Regions from separate parts of the Homo sapiens genome. Here region 2 is linked to region 1. Evidence: promoter capture Hi-C in human tissues and cell types (Jung and others, 2019). All regions are on one chromosome and are shown on one strand. The core of a region is centred on a gene start or on the middle of the fragment in contact, and the rest is flanking DNA. Distances in the headings are between cores, read along the strand shown. Region 1 holds the start of PRDM14 (PR/SET domain 14). Region 2 has its middle 100 kb from the start of PRDM14.

What was found. Contacts are between HindIII fragments. The study calls those that stand out against the background at their distance.
Region 2: a contact is called between a fragment that was not itself captured here and the fragment with the promoter of PRDM14 in region 1, in 2 of the 25 tissues and cell types used here (bladder and dorsolateral prefrontal cortex).

What each region holds. Positions count from the first base shown.
Region 1 is chr8:70,068,390-70,074,723 of GRCh38, reverse strand. It overlaps PRDM14 (PR/SET domain 14), which reads left to right and starts at 3,472. Exons shown (of 8, transcript NM_024504.4): 1 at 3,472-3,574; 2 at 4,840-5,563; 3 at 6,192-6,245. The coding sequence starts at 4,864. RefSeq lists enhancers at 1-673, 2,519-3,248, 3,249-3,978. The HindIII fragment of the contact is 14,761 bases long and covers 1,197-6,334 here.
Region 2 is chr8:69,968,435-69,974,388 of GRCh38, reverse strand. No RefSeq gene overlaps it. Among named protein-coding and RNA genes, the nearest start is that of PRDM14, 100 kb to the left of the region's middle. The HindIII fragment of the contact is 6,629 bases long and covers 1,112-5,954 here.

The sequences.
Region 1 (6,334 bases), core at 2,223-4,722:
AGGCGGGTGTGGTGGCACATACCTGTAGTCCTAGCTCCTGGGGAGGCTGACACAGGACAATTGCTTGAACCCAGGAGTTGGAGGCAGTAGTGAGCCGCAATCATGCTGCTGCATTCCAGACTAAGTGACAGAGTGAGGGCCTGTCTCTATGAAAGAAAAAAAAATTTAAGGCCGGGCGTGGTGGCACATGTCTGTAATCCCAGCACTTTGGGAGGCTGAGGCAGGTGGATCACTTGAACTTAGGAGTTTGACATCAGCCTGGGCAACATGGTGAAATCCCTGTCTCTACAAAAAACACAAAATTAGACAGGCTGAGATGAGAGGATCGCTTGAGCTGGGGCAGTTGAGGTGCACTGTAGCCTGGGCGACAGAGTGAGACCCTGTCTCAAAAAAAAAAAAAAGGAATGGCAATATTCGGTATTAGATGAAGCATGGAGAAATAGGCACTTGCCCTCACTGCTGGAGGAAGTATAAATTGGTATGGTTTGAAGTACTTGTTTATTTTGTATTTTTTGAGGCAGAATCTCACTCTGTCACCCAGGCTGGAGTGCAGTGGCGTGATCTTGACTCACTGCAACCTCTGCCTCCTGGATTCAAGCTAGTCTCCTGCCTCAGCCCTCCGAGTAACTGGGATTACAGGCTTGTGCCACCATGCTTGGCTAATGTTCGTATTTTTAGTAGAGATGGGGTTTCACCATGTTGGCCAGGCTGGTCTTGAACTCCTGACCTCTAGTGATCCACCCACTTAAACCTCCCAAAGTGCTGGGGTTACAGGTGTGAGCCACTGCGCCCAGTCTTGAAGTACTTGTTTAAATGATCAGTGTTTATACCTGTTGATCCAGCAACTTCACACCTGGATATTTCTTCTACAAGGCACAGTAGCACAACTATGTATCTGTATCAGTGTTTCTGTACACTGCCAGAAGTATTGAAAAACTGGCAACAACTTAAATACCTTTCAAGAGGAGGCTGATAAACTATGAGCACACCTATAAAATGGAAATTCTGTACCACGCAACCATTATAAAGAATAAATTTGCCGGTGTGGTGGCTCAGGTCTGCCATCCCAGCAATTTGGGAGGCCAAGGTGGGTGGATCCCTTGAGTTCAGTAGTTTGAGATCAGCCTGGGCAACATGGTGAAACCTGTCTCCACAAAAATATACAAAAATTAGCCGGGCTTGGTGGCGCATGACTGTAGTCCCAGCTAGTTGAGGGGAAGGGGCCGGGTGGTGAGACGGGAGGACAGCTTGAGCCCAGGAGGCAGAGGCTGCAATGAGCCAAGATCATGCCACTGTACTCCAGCCTGGGTGACAAAGTGAGACCCTGTCTCAAAATAATAATGATAATACTAAAATAAGGTTAATTCTACTATACTGATAGGGAATGATTACTAGTAGGAGCTAGGCCGTTGCAGAAACGAGTGAAGTATAATCCCATTTTTATTTTTACAAAATCCTACGTAATCCTACACAATCTAAAAGTATAGTGGGTTTTGGTTTGTTTGTTTGTTTGTTTGTTTTTAAGGAATGGGGGTAGGGAGCAAACCAAACTGTTGATCAGGATTATCTCCTAGAGTAGAAATGGGAAGCATGGATTTCAACTTTTCTTTTATCGATTTCTCCCAACTTCTTAAAACAAGCAAGTGTTATTTTAAAATAGTGTCAAATATAGTAAACTCTGGATTCTTTGCAAAACAAACCTCTAAGATAAGGTTTGATATTGCTTCCGCTAAAATAAAGCTACGACACTTCCGTGCACGAAAAAACGGCCTCTTGAGGACCTGCAACCCACAGATCACCCAGGTGCCCCCATATCATTCTTGAAATCCTACCTGTAAAGCCCAGGAGGAAGTATAGCGAATGCCAGTGGGTCTAGGAGCTCTGGGGTGAGCACGCCTCCGGAAGGAAAACGGCAACAGAATTTATTCTGCTTTTCCAAGTAAATGATCCTTCCACAGAGGCACTTGGGACAAGAGGCGACGGGTACTTTTCACGTTTTCGATCTATTGGCTAAGATCCTATCACCTCAAAACAAGGAGACGAGGAAACCCTGGGATCTTGATCCCATTTCGATTGAGAAAACAACACGCTCCTTGCGAAGCGAAACGGGGCTGGCCGCGGGCAGCGCGGAACCACGCGAAGGCGTCGGGGGCGGGCGGGCGCGGGGACCAGGGCCACCCGGTGCAGCAAAGGGGGCAAGCAGGCGGCAGGGCGCGCGGGGAGACAAGGCTGAGTGCACGCCGCCCGCGCCCTCGAAGGCTCTAGTCCCACTCCTTCCTCCCTTCTTGCAGCCCCGCCGCGCCCTGGCGAAGGCTACAGGGTCAGGTTCCCCGCACCGAGGAGCCCAGAAGCCCGGCTGCGGGCGCTCTGAAGATCCGGGACCCCGGCCTCCGTCCCCCGCCAGCTTTAGGGACTCTGGCGGCGTCTCTTAGCCGGGTAGATGTTCCTCCTTTCCCTCTCTCTTCCAAGCCGCTGCCAGGCCGGGGGTGAGGCTGCACCTCAGTCTTCAGCCCCGAAGGCCGCGCCCGGGGCGGGTCGCTCCCCATTCAGCTAAGAGGAAGCAGCGGCCGGGGGGCAGGCGAGGAACCTGTCCCGGCTCACCCGGCAAGACTGCGTTTCCCCCACCCTCGGCGCTTCTTTCTGTGAATGTGAATGGAACTAAGCGTTCCTTTCTCTCCCTCAATGGCCGGCGAGGAGAATTCAAATGCGGTCTTTGGGCGCTCGGTATGGGTCTGGACCTTGGTTTTCAGAGCCTGCGCGTCCAAGGTCGCTAGCCTTTCCCGAAGGAAGTGACAGCTGCGGCGGCGCGGGAGGCCCATCCTCGGTCGTTTAAAGCCACTTAAGGAATAAAAGCCCCCGAGAGAGCAAAACGACCACCCGAAACCTCGGAAGCGTCGGGGGTGCCGGGCCCAACGCTCCCACGTGTCACTGCCGGGGACTCGCGAGGCGAAGCTTCCCAGCGCTCAAGGCGCTCCCGCCTCGTCCCCAGGTATCAGGAACAGACACCCACCAGGTCCACCAGCGGGTCAGACGCCGCCTTCGGGCAGGCTGGGATCTTCCGAACTGGGAGCGGAGAGTAAGGGGCTCGACCCCGGGACGCGAGTCCGGCCTTCTGGACTCCGGTTCAGGGTGTGTGTGCGCGCGGAGGGGCTTATCTGGGGGCCCTGGGTAGCACACGTGTTCGGTTTTTTTCTCCCCGACTCCGCACGCCTGGAGCGGCAATACTGCCTGCCCTAGAAGGCCAGCGGCGAGTGCTCGCCACTAGGGTCCCAGGGAGGGTTTGGAAAACTGATGAGTTAAGTGAGCGACCCCAGGGGACAGAGGGCGAGTCGAGAGTCGGCCAATGGCTGCGGTGGGCGGGGAGAAGACGACGCGGGGATCTGCGTGGGCCGGGTCAATTCCCTACCCTCGACCTGTCGATGCCCCGCGGCCCCGCCCGCCCTCTTAAGCCTGGCTCAGCCCTCAGGGCCCGCCCGAAGTCTACCGAGCCCGAGTGGCCTACCGAGCCCGAGTGGCCCCGCAGCGTCCAGGAGGCGCCCGCTCCGCGGTGGCGCTCTTGGAGGTGGTGTCGGAGGTAGGCACGGGACAGGACGCGCCTGGGGCCCGGGGCGGTGGTCTTCCAGGGCCGTTGGGGAGGGCGGCAGCACTCGCTGGCGCAGTTCGTTTTGGATGGTCGTTCTGCCCTCTCGGGGGCTTTGAATCCCAAGTTGCAGATCCCTGAGGTCGGAGGAGGCTAGGAGAAGGGCGCCTTTGGAGGATCGGGAGGAGACGGGCCGCTGCCTGTGTCGTGGCTGACCTCTTCTCCTGACCCCGTGTTCTTTAATTTCTGAGTCATGACCCTGCTTGGTTTTCTTATTGGGCTCATTGATCTCAAGACCCGCCGGCCCTGAAGGGGCTTCATTCTTCAGCCTCGGTGAACTTGCTGCCTGTCTATTAAAACGCCATCCTTTCCCGGCGGTGCGGGGGCGGGAGGACTGGCAGTCGCCGAGGCTCTTCGCTCCCACCTGGCCAGGGCTCGTCCACGCGGCTCCCGAGGGGCTACCCCAGGCCCCAATAGTCCTGGTAGAATGATTGGAGTTTCCGAGGAACCCGGGGAATGTGGCGGACGCTGCCCGCGAGGGAAAAGAGGTTCAGGCGGCGCATCCTAGGGCAGCCAAAAGTGGCGCGCCCCTCCCCTGCGGGCAGTCAGGACCGCCAGGACCCGCGGGGTCACACCGCTGGGCCAGAGCAGGTCGCGGGGTCCCTGGACCTGCCCGGGGGCTCTGGGAGCGCGTCTCCATCTGCGCGGTGCGACCCAGGGTCCTCGGCTCTTCCCTCCCAGCCGAGGGCCCAGGAGCGCCTGGAGCTGTCGCTTGCTCCATTGCCCTCCGACCGCCTGCGCTCGGCTCCCGGCCCAGCCCCGAGGTTGGCAGGGCCCCGCGGCTCCCACAGACCCTACCAACGAGTTTTGTAGGACTGAGAAGAAGGAAGGAAAGGGAACTTCAATGGGTTTTGCAGGAACCGGGTTGGGGGCCGAAAGCGGAGAGCGGGTGTGGGAAGGCGGCCGGGCTTAGGGAAGGGGTGCTTGGAGAGGGAAGGGGAAGGCAACACTAACCCGGAATTTAGAGTAGGGCAGGATCCCGGCAGATTTCCGTTTGGGGCTTTTTTGTGTTTGCTTCTATTGCTGTTTTTTCGTTTTGTCTTAATTGTGGGAGCGGGCTGGCGGGATCGGACTGGGGGCGTTTATCCTGTTCCCTTGGATCTGGGGCTGGCTGGGGTGGAGGAGGCTGGTGGGGAGGCGCGGGTCGGACCCCGGGAAGCTCCCGCGCGGTGTCCTCAGCGGCGCCCGCTTTTCTGCAGAGCCGCCGAGCGTGCGGTCCCGGGATGGCTCTACCCCGGCCAAGTGAGGCCGTGCCTCAGGACAAGGTGTGCTACCCGCCGGAGAGCAGCCCGCAGAACCTGGCCGCGTACTACACGCCTTTCCCGTCCTATGGACACTACAGAAACAGCCTGGCCACCGTGGAGGAAGACTTCCAACCTTTCCGGCAGCTGGAGGCCGCAGCGTCTGCTGCCCCCGCCATGCCCCCCTTCCCCTTCCGGATGGCGCCTCCCTTGCTGAGCCCGGGTCTGGGCCTACAGAGGGAGCCTCTCTACGATCTGCCCTGGTACAGCAAGCTGCCACCGTGGTACCCAATTCCCCACGTCCCCAGGGAAGTGCCGCCCTTCCTGAGCAGCAGCCACGAGTACGCGGGTGCCAGCAGTGAAGATCTGGGCCACCAAATCATTGGTGGCGACAACGAGAGTGGCCCGTGTTGTGGACCTGACACTTTAATTCCACCGCCCCCTGCGGATGCTTCTCTGTTACCTGAGGGGCTGAGGACCTCCCAGTTATTACCTTGCTCACCCAGCAAGCAGTCAGAGGATGGTCCCAAACCCTCCAACCAAGAAGGGAAGTCCCCTGCTCGGTTCCAGTTCACGGAGGAGGACCTGCACTTCGTTCTGTACGGGGTCACTCCCAGCCTGGAGCACCCAGCCAGCCTGCACCATGCGATTTCAGGCCTCCTGGTCCCCCCAGACAGCTCTGGTAAAGGGAGTTCACACCATTTGGGAGTCGAATTGGACGGGAATGCAGGCGGGAACGGGAGTGTCCGGGAAGAGGCGCTTCCAGGTGGAGCTGAGGCTGCAGAGTGCGGGAAGGGGGAAGTACCTCCATGAGAGCCAGGGCTGTTCTAGGCTCACTTCTGAGGCCCTGCTTGCTTAACTGCATGACTAAGGTTGGTTTTAGTGAGAGCTGAGGACCAAGAGAGAAATGGTTCCTGCAGCGAACTCCCAGGTAGGTTCAGATTCTATGCTAACATGCAATGACAGCCTTCAGCAGTTCACACCTAACAGTCCCAGCTCAGCTAGCTACGCTGACCTTAGTCAGGCATTACCTCTGATCCTCAAATTCCTTGAATTTGCCTAATGGGGTTAATTACATAAACTTCCATGAGGCTGTTCTGAGTCTCAAATGAGAAATTGTATATGGAATTGTTTACAGTGAAATCGTGTATGAACAGACCATGTAAAATGAGCAGGGAAAAATAGAAACAACAAATAAATATCAAACTGGGATGATGGTTACCTTTAGGGAATTAAGGAGGGAAACACCTCATAAAAGCACTTTATAATGCATTTTTAATGAAAAATTGTTTTAACCTGCCTTTTGCTAGGATCTGATTCTCTTCCTCAAACTCTGGATAAAGACTCCCTTCAACTTCCAGAAGGTAGGCAGGACTCCTTGCATGGATTTCTTTCCCTGAACTAATGCAGAGTCAACTCTCCTCATTCTCTTTTCCTGCCTCGGCTTTCCCCT
Region 2 (5,954 bases), core at 3,177-5,676, 100 kb after region 1:
ACTCAGGAGACTGAGGTGGGAGGATCACCTGAGTCTGGGGAGCTCGAGGCGGCAATGAGTCATGATCCCGCTACTGTACTCCAGCCTGGGGGACAGAGTGAGACCCTGTCTAAAAAAAAAAAAAAAAAAAAAACTAAGAAGGCAGCCAGCACATTTTAATTTATGTTGATGCTATTTAATGGACTATACAGGAAACAATTCTAAACGCGTTTCTTTTCAACTATTTTAGGACTTGGAGAAATATGAATTTAGAATTAGAAAATGGTCTAGCCAGGATTTGGAGAAAAGTTCTTACATGGAGCCAACATAATTCACAAATACACACAGTCCGTTATGGCTTTATCTTACCCCAGGTGATGAGATAGAGAAATGAGAGCTTTGGGAGTTAACTTCCCATCAGGAGCAGAGAACAGGCAATAACTATTACTCTATGGATGCCAAACAGACATGCCCGTGTCGGGGAAATCTGGTGCATATTAATGACATTGATCAGAGTCCTTCTACCATGAAGCTATTACCCAAAACAGCTCCAGATTGGATCATTGGATTTTTTTTTCTTTTTGAGATGGAGTCTCCCTCTGTCGCCCAGGCTGGAGTGCAGTGGCGCAATCTCTGCAAGCTCCGCTTCCTGGGCTCAGGCCATTCTCCTGCCTCAGCCTCCCAAGTAGCTGGGATTACAGGCGTGTGCCTGCACGCCCGCCTGGCTAAGTTTTTGTATTTTTAGTAGAAATGGGCTTTCACTATGTTAGCCAGGCTTGTCTTGAACTCCTGACTTCAGGTGAGGTGCTCACCTCGGCCTCCCAAAGTGCTGGGATTACAGGTGTGAGCTACCACGCCTGGCCAGAACATTGGATTTTTCTTACTCATACACTTTTTTTTTAAAGGTAATTGGTCAGGCACAGTGGCTCATGCCTGTAATCCCAGCATTTTGAGAGGCTGAGATGAGAGGATTGCTTGAGGCCAGATTTTGAGACCAGGCTGGTCAACATAGCGAGACCCCATGGGAGGCCGAAGCGGGTGGATCATGAGGTCAGGAGATCAAGACCATCCTGGCTAACGTTGTGAAATCCCGTCTCTATTAAAAATTCAAAAAATTAGGTGGGCGTGGTGGCGGGTGCCTGTAGTCCCAGCTACTCTGGAGGCTGAGGCAGGAGAATGGCCTGAGCCCGGGAGGCGGAGCTTGCAGTGAGCTGAGATTGCACCACTGCGCTCCAGCCTGGGCGACAGAACGAGACTCTGTCTGAAAAAAATAAATAAAAATAAAAATATAAATAAAAAAGGTAATTGAAGAAGATTATCTATGTAATCTTTTTATAATATGTGTAGCATATAACATAGAAGATAGTGAATAATATATTCTGAGTTACAGTTTTCTAAATATTTGAAATGTATGTTTTCCTTTCAAGTGGGTTAGAATACTTCGTTGAAATTCTCAGTTTGTTCCCAAACATCAATGACATGATATCTTTTTCTTTTTACTCACATTACCCATGGGCGTCTTGTAAGGTACTCAGTAAATATTTATATAATAAAGTTCTTGAATTAAGAAAATGTATGAATCATGGGAAGGAAAGAAGTGGAAGACAGAGCCACTTCTGTGGCTTTTGGCTCCACTTGAGTACTGGCTAAGGGTCTTTTGGCTACAAGTGCAGAAACTGGCTCAAGCTAGAATTTTTTGTAGGGACACAGGTAGGCTTTGTGAAAGCTGAAGACTCTAAACTGGAGTCAGGAACCTGAGTACACTCAAGCGTTGTCCTTCTCTTCTGTCTGTTTTGTTCTTAGGTCTCTGCTTGATTCATTTTCCTCTCTCTCCTGCCTCTTTCATTGACTCCTTCTGTCCCCACAACAGAGTATAAAATGGCTACCATCAGCTTCTGCATTTAGATACAGCAGGTCCAGCCTCCTGCAGAGGTTAACCTCCCTCAGAGTCCTATGCACATTTAAGGAGGAAAGGATTTTGATTGCCACGGCTCAGCCAGGTTCCCAGTGGGACTTATCAGCCATGAGCAGGGTCAAGGTTAGGTCTTTCCACAAACCTGGAGGGAATCATTCCCATAGCCAAGAGTTAGACAGAGGGTGCTTACTTTTGTACCCACAAAAAATTAGGTAAGGCCAGGCGCGGTGGCTCATGCCTGTAATCCCAGCATGTTGGGAGGCCAAGGTGGGTGAATCACATGAGGTCAGGAGTTCGAGCCCAGCCTGGCCAACATGGTGAAACCCCGTCTCTACTAAAAATACAAAAATTAGCCAGTTGTGGTGGTGGCACCTGTAATCCCAGCTACTCAGGAGGCTGAGGCAGCAGAATCGCTTGAACCCGGGAGGCAGAGGTTGCAGTGAGCCGAGATCTCACTATTACACTTCAGCCTGGGTGACAAGAGCAAAACTCCATCTCAAAAAAAAAAAAAACAAAAAAAAAAACTAGGTCAATTGGCAAGCAATTTGGGAGGGATCCACAGTATATTACCCATTTTTATAAAGTAAGCTAAAAAGTTATTGGCCAACATCTAAAATTTCTGTCTTGTTTCCCTTCTCATTTTTTTTTCGTAGTATTCATCCAAAAAGAAATATACTGAATGGAAAACATGTAACAATTTACAACATTCTTGTAATATCTATGCCATTTACCATTTCTTTAATGAGGTCCTTAATTCTTTTCTTACTTTATTTATTTATTTTTTTGAGACAGGGTCTCACTTTGTCACTGAAGCTGGAGTGCAGTGGCGGGATCATGACTGACTGAGGTCTTGACCTCCTGGCTCAAGTGATCCTCCCACCTCAGCCTCCCAAGTAGCTAGGACTACAGGTGCTTGCCACCACGCCTCGCTAATTAAAAACAAAATTTTTGGCCAGGAGTGGTGGCTCATGCCTGTAATCCCAACACTTTGGGAGGCTGAGGCAGGTGGATCACAAGGTCAGGAGTTCGAGACCAGCCTGGCCAACACAGTGAAACCCCATCTCTACTAAAAAACCAAAAATTAGCTGGGCATGGTGGTGCGTGCCTGTAGGCCCAGATACTTGGGAGGCTGAGGTTGAGCCTGGGAGGCGGAGGTTGCGGTGAGCCGAGATCGTGCCACTGCACTCCAGCCTGGTGACAGCAGAGGGAGACTCTGTCTATTAAAAAAACAAAAATAAAAACAAAAACAAAAACAAAACTTTATTGTAGGCCAGGTGCAGTGGCTCTGTAATCCCTGCACTTTGGGAGTCCAATTGCTGGAGGCCAGGAGCTCAAGACCAACCTAGGCAACATCACAGGACTTCACCTCTAAAAAATTAGAAATTAAAGAAATTAGTTGGGCCGGGCAGGGTGACTCATGCCTGTAATCTCAGCACTTTGGGAGGCCAAGGCGGGCTGATCATGAGGTCGGGAGATTGAGACCATCCTGGCTAACACGGTGAAACCCCGTCTCTACTAAAAATACAAAAAATTAGCTGGGCATGGTGGCGGGCGCCTGTAGTCCCAGCTACTTCAGAGGCTGAGGCAGGAGAATGGCGTGAACCTGGAAGGCAGAGGTTGCAGTGAGCCGAGATCGCGCCACTGCACTCCAGCCTGGGTGACAGAGCAAGACTCCATCTCAGAAAAAAAAAAAAAGAAATTAGTTGAGTGTGGTGGCATACGCCTATAGTACTAGCTACTTGGGAGGCTGAGGCAAGAGGATCACTTGAGCTCAGGAATTGAGGTTACTGTGAGCTATGATTGTGCCACTATACTCCAGCCTAGGCAACAGAGTGAGACCTTGTCTCTAAAAACTAATAATAATAATTAATAATAATACTAAATACTTTATTGGTAAAAAATGCTAATGGTCATCTGAGCCTTCAGCAAGTCATAGTCTTTTTTTTCTTCTTCTTTTTTTTTTTCGTGAGACAGAGTTTTGCTCTTGTTGCCCAGGCTGGAGTGCAATGGCATGATCTCGGCTCACTGCACCCTCCACCTCCTGGGTTCAAGCAATTCTCCTGCCTCAGCCTCCTGAGTAGCTGGGATTACAGGCATGTGCCACCAAGCCTAGCTAATTTTTTGTATTTTTAGTAGAGACGGGTTTCTCCATGTTGGTTAGGCTGGTCTTGAACTCCCAACCTCAGGGGATCCACCTGCCTTGGCCTCCCAAAGTGCTGAGACTACAGGCGTGAGCCACCGCACCTGGCCCAGCAAGTCATAGTCTTCGTGCTGGTGAAGAGTCTTGCCTTGCCTTGATGTGGATGGCTGCTGACTGATCAGGGTGGTGGTTGCTAAAGGTTGGGGTGGCCATGGCAGTGTCTTAAAATAAGACAACAATGAAGTTTGCCCATTGATGGATTCTTCCTTTCATGAAAGATTTCTCTGTAACATGCAATGCTATTTGATAGCATTTTACCCACAGTAGAATTTCTTTCAAAATTGGAGTTGATCCTCTCAAGCCCTGCCCCTGCCTTATCAAACTAAGTTTATGTAATATTTTAAATCCTTTATGTTGTTTCAACAATGTTCATAGCATCTTCACCAGGAGCTGATTTCATCTCATGAAACCCCTTTCTTTGCTCATCCTTAAGAAGCAACCCCTCACTTGTTCAAGTTTCATCGTGAGATTGCAGCAGTTCAGTCATGTCTTCAGGGTTCATTTGTAATTCTCATTCTCTTGCTATTTCCACCACACCTGTGATGACTTCCTCCATTGAACTCTTAACCCCTCAAAATCATCCATGGGGGTTGGAATCAACTTCTTCCAAACTTCTGTTAATATTCATATTTTGACCTCTTCCCATGAATCATGAATGTTCTTAATGGCATCTAGAATGGTGAATCCTTCCTAGGAGGTTTTTAGTGTACTTTGCCCAGATCCATCATAGGAATACCTATCTGTGGCAGCTATGGCCTTAAGATGTATTTCTTTTTCTTTTTCTTTCTTTCTTTTTTTTTTTTTTTTGAGATGAATTCTCACTCTGCCACCCAGGCTGGAGTGCAGTGGCACAATCTCGGCTCACTGCAATCTCTACCTCCTGGTTCAAGTGATTCCTGTGCCTCAGCCTCTTGAGTATCTAAGATTACAGGCATGCACCACCATGCCCAGCTAATTTTTGTATTTTTAGTAGAGATAGGATTTCACCATGTTGGTCAGGCTGGTCTCAAACTCCTAACTGCAGATGATCCACCCACCTTGGCCTCCCAAAGTGCTGGGATTACAGGCATGAGCCACCATGTCCGGCCAGTGCCTGACCTTCTTAAAATGTATTTCTTAAAAAACATGACTTGAAAGTTGAAATTACTCCTTGATCTGTGGGCTGCAGAATGGGTGCTGTGGTAGCAGCATGAAAACAGCATTCATCTCCTTGTACATCTCCATCAGAACTCTTGGGTGACCAGGTCCCATTGTCAATGAACAGTAATATTTTGAAAGGAATCTTTTTTTTCTGAGCAGTAGGTCTCAACAATGGGCTTAAAATATTCAGTAAACCATACTGTTAACAGATGTGCTGTCATATAGGCTTTGCTGTTCATTTCTAGAGCACAAGCTTAGTAGATTTAGCATAATTCTTAAAGGCCCTAGGATTTAAAAATGGTAAATGAGCTTTGGCTTCACCTTAAAGTCACCAGTGGCATTAGCCCCTAACAAGAGAGCCAGACTGTCCTTTGAAGCTTTGAAGCAAGGCATTGACTTCTCCCCTTTAGCTATGAAAGTCCTAGAAAGCATCTTCTTCCAGTAGAAGGCTGTTTCACCTACCTTGAAAATCTCTTGTTTAGTGTGTTGACCTTCATCAGTGATCTGAGCTAGATCTTCTGAATAACTTGCTGCAGCTTCTCCATCAATGCTTGCTGCTTCACCTTCCACTTTTATGTTATAGAGATGGCTTCTTTTGTTAAGACAACTTGTGCTTGCTTCAAACTTTTCTTCTGCAGCTTCCTCACCTCTTTCAGCTTTCATGGAATTAAAGAGAGTTAGGGCCTTGCTCTGAATTAGGCTTTGGCTTAAGGGAATGCT